Linked DNA regions of Homo sapiens: regions 2 and 3 are each linked to region 1. Evidence: promoter capture Hi-C in 16 types of primary human blood cells and fetal thymus (Javierre and others, 2016). All regions are on one chromosome and are shown on one strand. The core of a region is centred on a gene start or on the middle of the fragment in contact, and the rest is flanking DNA. Distances in the headings are between cores, read along the strand shown.

The links. Contacts are between HindIII fragments. The CHiCAGO score rates a contact against its expected background, and 5 or more counts as called.
Region 2: a fragment that was not itself captured here is called in contact with the fragment with the promoter of HES6 in region 1 in 1 of 17 cell types (neutrophils); the score reaches 5.0 in neutrophils.
Region 3: a contact is called between a fragment that was not itself captured here and the fragment with the promoter of HES6 in region 1, in 3 of 17 cell types (fetal thymus, neutrophils and erythroblasts). The highest score is 6.3, in fetal thymus.

The regions. Positions count from the first base shown.
Region 1 is chr2:238,238,564-238,241,558 of GRCh38, forward strand. HES6 (hes family bHLH transcription factor 6) reads right to left here and starts at 1,475. Exons shown (of 4, transcript NM_018645.6): 1 at 1,262-1,475; 2 at 1,098-1,184; 3 at 924-1,005; 4 at 1-688. The coding sequence starts at 1,342. The coding sequence ends at 264. RefSeq lists enhancers at 1-474, 2,375-2,880, 2,881-2,995 and a silencer at 1,198-1,717. The HindIII fragment of the contact is 3,888 bases long and covers 1-2,995 here.
Region 2 is chr2:237,661,557-237,664,551 of GRCh38, forward strand. The region is part of intron 1 of LRRFIP1 (LRR binding FLII interacting protein 1); the gene reads left to right. Among named protein-coding and RNA genes, the nearest start is that of LRRFIP1, 35 kb to the left of the region's middle. RefSeq lists enhancers at 1,127-1,668, 2,655-2,995. The HindIII fragment of the contact is 4,313 bases long and covers 1-2,995 here.
Region 3 is chr2:237,695,466-237,698,460 of GRCh38, forward strand. The region is part of intron 1 of LRRFIP1 (LRR binding FLII interacting protein 1); the gene reads left to right. Among named protein-coding and RNA genes, the nearest start is that of LRRFIP1, 69 kb to the left of the region's middle. RefSeq lists an enhancer at 1,619-1,828 and a silencer at 2,892-2,941. The HindIII fragment of the contact is 2,361 bases long and covers 314-2,674 here.

The DNA.
Region 1 (2,995 bases), core at 225-2,724:
TCTACAAAATTCTTCCTCCTGCCCGTAGCTCCCTCCCTCCACCCACTCCAGAGCTGCAGGGTCCCTAAAAGTTTCTTAAGAAACGGGGCTGGGGCCTGACTGGGCTGGTTACCAGGGGCTGCCCTGCAAGCCATCCATCAGAGGAGGGAGGGAAGACCTGGGAGACTTCCAGGGCCCTACCCCACCACATCTGAACCCCTGGGAGGAGGGAGGAGATCCAGGGAGGGCCGGGCCCACCCCCGCAGGACTCTGGCTGGCATTGGTCACCAAGGCCTCCAGACACTCCGGGCAATTTGGGCTGTGGTCAGGCTGCCCAGGGCTGCGGGCACCAAGTCGGGCCCCTCAGCAGGAGCCTGACTCAGTTCAGCCTCAGGGGCCTCCTCCAGGTCGGAGCACAGGTCGTCCCCAGGACCCGGGGGGCTGGGTATTGGGGATCCCGGAGCGCCCCCCGCAGGCCAGCCACTCCGTCCAGGGGCTCTAGGTGGCCCCGCCAGGGCGTCCCCCAGCAGATCCTGGAAGCTGCTGCCCTCACGCAGCGGCATGGACTCGAGCAGATGGTTCAGGAGCTCGGCAGCGACGGTAGCGTCGATGGCCTGGCACGTGGACACGAACGTGTGCACCTCGTGCATGCACTGGATGTAGCCGGCAGCGAAGCGCTCGCTCGCTTCCGCCTGCAGCTGCTCGCGCTCTGGGCCCGAGGGTGGGAGGGAGAGAGCCGCGTCCCGCGCGGTGAGCGGCGACTGCGTGGCCCAGCCCACCCGGCCCGCGGGGACGCGGCTCACCCAGGAGACGCGGGGGCGCACCCTGCTCCGGTGGGAGCCCTCGCCGCCGACAGGACAGGGGCGCCGGGAGGGAAGTCCTCCGTCTGGCAGGGGTTACAGGCGCCCGCGGCCGGCGCCCCCGCCCGCCCCGCCGCCACTCACCGCGCGCCCGGCCCCGCAGCACACCCTGGACCCGCCGCACCGTCAGCTCCAGCACTTCGGCGTTCTCCAGCTTGGCCTGCACCTGCGCGGGCGGGAAGGGCGGTGAGCCGGCAGCGCGCTCCCGGACCCGCCCGCCCGCCCCGCAGCCCCACGGCGCCTGCCCGGCCGCCGCACCTCGGCGCCCGCCAGCAGCAGCCGCAGCTCCTGCAGGCTCTCGTTGATCCGCGCGCGCCGCTTCTTCTCCACCAGGGGCTTCCGGGCCTGCGGGGAGCGGGGCACTGAATCCCAGCCCCGCACGGCCTCCCGCCCGCTTGCTCGCCCATGGCCCCGGCCCGCACCTTGCGGTCCCCTCGCGTCTCCCAGCCGTCCTCATCCTCACGGCCCACACGGTCCCGGCCAGGCGCCGCGGGTGGCGCCATGCCCGCTCCGCCGGGGACGCGGCAGGGGCTAGGAGCAGCGGGGACGGGGAGCGGCGGGGACCGGAGTGCCGGCGCCCTCCGCTGCCCCGCGGCCGCCCAGCAGCAGCCCAGCCGTCCGCGCTCCTCGCGGCTTCCGGCCCGCCGCGGTCCCGCCCCTTTTATAGCCGCTTATTTGCATCTCAATGCGCCGATTGGCCGCGCGGGCCCGGGGCGGCCGACCGCGAGGCGCGCTGCAGCCAATCGGGGCAGCGCGCTTTGTCCGGCCCAGCGGCTCTGGCGGTCGGGCAGCTGGCTGAGCTAGGCGGGGCCCCCAGCCCGGCCTTCCCTAGACCCCCGCGGGGGCGGCACCGGGGCGGCGACCCCGGGTAGCTGCGGCCCTGCCCGCGCTTGTTTCTCTCCGTCTGCTGCTCTAGGACCACTGATCTGCCGCGCGTGCGAGCAGGCGTCCACCCGTCCGTCCGTCCGTCCGTCCACTCATTCATTCACCCATTAATTCATTCATTTCCCTCCTTCGCCGATGGCGCCTCCAGAGTTGAGCGCTGGGGCCACTGGCCCCAGGAGATGCGTCCCTGGTGTGCAGAGCCACAGTCAAGTCCGCGGTCTCTGGACCTAGAGGGGTTTCAGGTCCCGGCTGGGGTGGCTGCCAAGCCCCGGGGAGGCAGGGTCCATTGGGCAGCGGTGGCGGGGCGGCCCCTGAGTTTCTTCCGGACTCGTCCAGACGCCGGGCCGGACCCCCGACGCCGCCCTCCGCCAGCACTGGAGTCCTAGTGGGGCGGGGTCCCGGGTGCTCCCGCCCGCGCCGCTCTCCCCCTGGGCTCTGCGGGTCACCAGCCCCGCCCCCCTCTGAGCTCCCCCATCTCCCTCTAGTCCCCTTTGGCCCCCGGGGCCCCCTCCCTCCCTTCCACTGCCCCCCGCCCGCCTCCCTCCTCCCCTCCTCGTCCTCCGCGCCCCGCCTCCCAGGCCCGCCGAAGCTGCCGTCTGGTCCTGTAACTTGATGCCCGTGACAGTTGGCAGCTGCGGCCGCTTCGGCGGAGAAAAGCGAGAAAAGCGGCGGCCGCGCCAAGAGCGACAGGTGTTGGCCGCGCCTTTGTCTCGCACCCTTTGTCCGGCGGGCAGGCGGCGGGCGCTTGTCCCGGCCAGACGCCCGCGACTCCCCCATCGCGGCGGGCCGCCCATCTGCTGGGTTCCTCTTGGCCGCGGGCGGGGTGCGTGGGCGGTGGGGCCGCGCCCTCGGGCAGCGTCCTGGGGACCCCTGCCCGGCTCCTGCCCCGGCGTCAGTCCAGACGCTGTGTGGAGGAGCCGGAACGGGAGACGCCTTCTCGGACCCCAGCCGGCCGACTACCAGCCTGCCCCGCACAGCACCTGCCTTCCTCAGTCCCCACTACTCACCCGGGCTGGGATCGTCAGGGTCTGTTCTGAGCCCCTCCAGGCTATAAGCGTCCCTGGACAAGGGCACAGTCTGACCTAGGACCCCCTGTCCACCTCCCCGCACCCCCAGCAGAGCCTGGCCTCACAGAAGCGCTGGTAGGTAGGGAAGGTGAGGGGTGGCCCTGGCAGGATGGGCTGGAAGGCCGCGTGGGAGGGGAACATCACGGGACCGCAGCAGCTGAGCGGAGCGGCAGGACTAGGCTGCAGACCGACCGCCCCACTGCC
Region 2 (2,995 bases), core at 134-2,633, 580 kb before region 1:
AAACTGCCCTATGTGCATCTCTGTCCTCATCCATGAAACCATCCTTGTCCTCACTGTCGATGGAATTTTTCAGTGATACCTAACATCTGTCCCAGAGCCATGCACGTTCCGAAAGCACATTCCAGGGGGACAGTTGTGTCCCTGGTGCAACACGGGAGTGGGCACACATTCTCTGTGCTGTGCATGGGGACAGCTCCAGGAAGAGAGAGGGCACTGTTTTCCTGTTTCCTGAGTCAATCCGCTGTAGTTCTGTGGCCCAGCTGAGTGGCATAGGCTCTCCTGACCCAGGTACCTATCAGCCCCCAAAATAGGTGTTGCCATGATTCCTTTGGACAAAATGTAAAATCTGGCTGAAGACTGAGTCCTCGTGCACCTAGCGTGACCCATGACAGCATGCAGGTGTTGGTCTGTAGGGATGCCATAACAAAGTGCCACAAACTGGGTGACTTAAAATAACAGAACTGTATTCTCTCACAGTTCCGGAGACCGGAAGTCCAAAGTCGAGGTATTGGGCCAGGTGGGTTCCTTCTGGAGGCTCTGAGGGGAAGGTGTTCCAGGCGTCTCTCCAGCTTCTGGTGCTGCTGGCAGCCCTCGGCCCTCTGGCTTGTAGACACATCACACCAGGCTCTGCCTCCGTCTCCACGTGGCCCCCTCCCTGGGTATTTGTGTCTCTGTGTGCAAATTTCTGTTTCCTTATAAGAAAGTCATTGAATGAGGGCCCACCCTAATCTAGTACGACCTCATCTTAACTTGATTGTACACGCAAAAAGCCTATGTCCAAATAAGGCCCCATCCACGGGTTCTGGGTGGACATGAACTTTTGGGGGATGTTACTGAACGCAGTGCAGGGTTCTTACATTCTCACCATCACGTATATGATTTTATTCTTCAGGGTGCTAAGGTGTGGTGTGTGCCATGTGCTCTTAACCCCTTAGAAAAGATAAGGACAATTTTTTTTTCAGGTCCAATGTCTGAATGTATTTTTTTTCTTTCTCTTAGGATTTGAAGATATATAACAATATGTCATAAACTGACCTGAAATCCTTGTTTGTTCCGCAGCGAAATCCATTAATAATCCCTATAACTGGGACAGTTTTATGTTCCCATTCTCGGTGTGGCTATTTATAGTGAAACCTCACTTTCCCTGTGTTGGTTAACATTAAAAACTGGAACTGCTTCTGAGGTAGGAGGCGGGACTTGACTCCAGAGGCGGGGCTTGGACACTGGGCCAGATTGAGGACTAGCTAAAACAGGCCCGGTGGGGAAAGCAGTCTTCAATCAGACACGCCCACCAGCGCTATGTCAATTTACCGTTGCCATGACGGCACCCAGGCATTACCGCTCCTTTCCACGGCAATGACCCAGTGATTACTACCTCTTCCTTGCATAAACCGCTCCTTAATCTGCATGCAATTACAAGTGAGTATAAACAGGACTGCAAAACTGCCCTGAGGTGCTGCTCTCTGCCTGCGGGGTAGCCCTGCCCTGCGGGAGCCGGCAGGGAGCTGGAACACTGACACTTCAGTAAAGCTGTTTTCTTCTACCTATGACTTGCCCTTGAATTCTTTCCTGAGCAAGGCCAAGAACCCAGATGGGCTAAGCTCCACTTTAGGGCTCGCCTGCCCTGCATCAGTTTAACTAAACTATTAGAATTTTTAGTTTAAAAGAAATGAGTAAGATTGTGAGCATTCTGTGAGATGCGGAGTGAAAGAAGGTGCTGTAGTCTGAACGTTTGTGTCTCCCCTAAATTCATGTATAGAAATCCTAACCACCAAGCTGACTGTATTAGGAGGTGGGAGCTTTTAGGAGGTGATTAGGGCATGAGAGTAAATGAGATTAGTGCCCTTATAAAACAAACCCGGGGAGTTCTTTCCCCCCCCATCCCGCCATGTGAGGACACAATGGGAAGGGGGCCCTCACCCCTTCTATGAACAAGAAAGGGGGCCCTCCCCAGACACTGAATCTGCTGGCACCTTGATCTTGGGCTTCACAGCCTCTGGAACTGGGGGAAGTTAATTTCTGTTGTTTATAAGCCACCTAGTCTATGCCCTTCTGCTACAGCAGCCTAAACAGCTCAGCCTTAATGGACGAGGCACATGGAATGACTTCCGGGCCTCTGACAGGGTGCTTGGGGAGGATGGTGTGATGTTGCGTTATCACTCACAGACACTGTGGAACTGACTGGGTTGGTGGAGCGGGGACCCGGGGAAGAGTTCAGTTCTGTTCTGGGAATGTTGCCTTGAGGCAGCTGAGCACTACCCACAGGGAAAGGTCTGGCAAAGGTTCACGTGCATTCGCCTGGGCCATAGGGGAGAGGGGAGCCGTCAGCGGTCAGGGTGGTCAAAGCCACATAGTTGCATGAGGTCTCCTAAGTAGGTCAGTGGAGCAGAGTACCCAGGGTGGAGCCCCGGGAACCTCAGAAACAAGGAAGGGGTGAGCAGAGGAAGGGTCGCCCTCAGGGCACTGGGAGGGAGGAGCAGGGTGAAGGGTGGGGGCAGAGGGGAAACAGCCATGTCCATGCTGCAGAGAGACCCAAGGGAGACCCGGGGAAGAATGTCACTTGCACCTTGCAAAAGGGAGGGTCCTGGCGGCCTCAGCCAGAGCCGTTTTAGTGAAGTCATGGGGAGAAGGACCACAGAGGCTTAGTCCTGGCTGGGGCCGCAGTGGGACTGGCAGTGGAGAGGAGGGGGCCCAAGCCAGGGAGATTGAGTTCTTGGCAAAGAGGCCGGCGGCGTTCTCCACTGCGTTTCCATCCGCAGGTGCGCCTGCCGCCTGGCCTGTCCACAGTGTGCTGGTTGCTGGTATTCAGTTCTGGATTGTACCTCTGACTGGACTGAGGTCCATCAGCAAATGACGGGGCCTCGGCGGTGTGGCAGTGTGTTCAGCTGCTGGCATGCCGCCTCGGGAACAGAAAAGTCACGTTGTTGTGTATGCGGGTAACAGCTCCAGGGAGGCGTGAAGAGAACTTCCTGGCAAGGAGTGCTGCTCCAAGACT
Region 3 (2,995 bases), core at 244-2,743, 540 kb before region 1:
GGTCCTCAAAAGGCAATGTCCAAGAGGAACTTCTTATCCCCGAAAAATCAGGCTGTGTGACTCAGCAAAGGAATTGTTTATGACTGGTTACTCATATGCCAGTGCTTCCAGAATATCTGCTCGTATTTAAAGGAGTGATCTTGAAGCCCCAGAGGCCATAATGTTTAGATTACCAACCTCTTCACCAATCAGTAAGTCCATTACATCTCACTACGTGTTAGACATGGGACAGGAGAAGAGGATTTTTATTACCTCACTGTTATTACTGGAGGCCGCCCAAATTTGTTTTTTGTTTTTTTTTTTTAAATAAAGAAGCTTGTTTTCATGGAATGGACTTACTAGAACTTTTATTATTCAGACTACCTAGATAAAATTAAGTAAATTCGTTTCTTTCTCCCAAATTAAATATTTTGACTACATGCAAGATTTAATCATTCAAAATTGCCATGTATTTGATTATAGACCAGTAGTATAATCCCCCTGCCCCAGGCCAGATTCCAAAACAATAAACCAAAACACACACACACCTGGCAACAGAAATTATATGTATTCCGAGACTCATTCATTCATTTTGGAAAGGGCCAGTGTTTCCAGTGGTTTCTCCTTGGGATTGTAACTTTACAACTTTAAAACTAGGTAAGTAGTTTTCCCTTGAATCTAAAGTATAACTACTTTGTAGTAGAGAAGTAATTTATCTTAAATCACTATAATGAAGATTTACTCTTAATTTTAACCAAAATGTTTCATTTATTTGTGTAATGAAGATGATCAAAGCAACGCCACCTGTGATCCTTCTGTCTTTTTTACTGTATGTGGCACGTGGCTGTGTGATTTTCCTAGGGAAAGGAGTGGGCTTTCCCTGTGGGTTGAGAACCTCTGTCCCCCTCCTCTGAAGTTTCCCCAGTTTTTCCTGCTTCTCTGCTAGGTGGGTGCCTTAGCATGCTTGTCTTCTCATCGTGCTTCTAAACTTCTCTGAACCGGATTTATACTCTTAGGTCAGTAGCTGTCAAAGAAGACACTAAGTAGTGAAAGTAGCTAATATTTACCAAACCCCTGCTGCGCCCACCTGGTGTTTTATGTGAAGGTCTTCTCTAACCCTTGCTGTAACCTCATGGGGAGCAGATCGTTTTCTCTCAGTTTTTCAGATAAAGAGGAAACTGAGGCTCAGAAAGGTCAGGGACTTTCCAAGCCCTCACAGCTAGTCAGCAGTGGAGCCAGTTCAGACCCAGGCCTGCTGACTCGGAACTGGTACTGATAACTGTCACCACTGTATGCAATGCTGCAGGCAGGGGCTGGCAGGTAGTAAATGTGCAAGATATAGCTGTGGCTGCCACGGCTGCTGCTGCTGCTTTTGTCGCTGTTGTCAGCTTTTCTTGGCAGCCCTGCTGTCTCATACCCCAGTATTGGGGCTGAAGGATTTCTTTTTACCAAAGCTGCCTCTTAGGACAGAAGTCCTTGTCTTGAATGCATACTGGGAAGTCTTCACTCTGTCAAACTTTTCTGTTCTCTGCCTGGTAATTTCCAGACAGAAGAGAACATTCAAAGAACGAACTTACTTTCCTTCTTTTTTTTTATTGAGACAGTCGTGCTTGATTGCCCAGGCTGGAATGCAATGGCACAATCTCAGCTCACTGCAACCTCCGTTTCCCAGGTGCAACCGATTCTCCTGCCTCAGACCTCTGAAGCAGCTGGGACTACAGGTGCCTGCCACCTCACCCGGCTAATTTTTGTATTTTTAGTAGAGATGGGGTTTCACCACATTGGCCGGGGTGGTCTCAAACTCCTGACCTCAAGTGATCCTCCCATCTCGGCCTCCCAAAGTGCTGGGATTACAGGCATGAGCCACCACACCCGGCCCAATGAGCTTTACTTTTCTACATAAGGAAAATAATGGTAGAAATGAAATAGCTGTGAAACTTGTTTTGCTATTTTTGTACCATGCTAAAATGTTAACTACTGCTTATGTCGGCATACACCTGAGAGCTGCTGTGATTTAAGCCTTTTTATTTTTCTGGGTATGATGTAACTCCTCCCCTACCTCATCCAAGTAGATAAGTTCATGGAGGATAAACATGACAGCTGCTGTTTCTTTTATAGCTGGTTCCAGGGAATATCCACTGAATATAGGAAAGATTGTCAGTTGCTGTGTGCTGCCCTGGTGCTGGTGGAGCTTTCAGCCTTCTTCTCAGAGGAAACAATTTAAATGTTTTTGTGAAACCCTAGAGGTCTGGGGTTTGTAGGACAGTCTTGAGCAGAGCAGGCAAAGGTGAAGGGAGTGGAGCCCAGACGTGCTGCCTGGAGGGAAACCTGTCACCTGGAGAGGAAACGGCACAGGGGAGGCCCAGCCGCCCTCGCCTCTCAGTCCCGCACGTCTCTGTTAGTGGTAGTCATGGTTCTTGTATTTCCATCATGTTGAGGCAATTGAAGGAAATATGAAGATTCATTCATCTCAGGAAAAGCAAGAAATGTATTAACAGCAAGAGTAGAAGTTCACTTGCATGGAAGATACTGTATAGCGTATTTATTTCTTAGCGCCAGTGGGAGTAGCTGCTAAGCCCAAGATTGTGTTGTGAGGTTTGAATAGGTCAATGTGTGAGTCATCAATAAAGTAACATCAATCATTTTGTTCCCGATTAATACGTTTGCTATTTTAGGATGCGAAGGACTTTAAAGAAGCTTATTATTCTGAAAAGCAAAGCCTGGAGATTTCCAGTAGCAAAACAGACACAGTCTGTGGACAATCTCAGTGTACAAATAATTCACCTCTGGCATGAACCCAAAGAATTTCAGAGGGGAAGGAAGCTCTTAAAGATTACGTCCCCTCCTACTTCTTTAATGAGGGCTGGGGTTCAAAAACCGAGTAACTTATCCAGGCTCACATAACTGTAGGTGACAGAGCCCAAGCTGGAGGCTGTGGCTGGGTCTTCAGACTCCTTTCTTGACAGTCTGCACCTGCATAAACTCAGACCTTTACTGAGAACAGTGCAGCCATAGC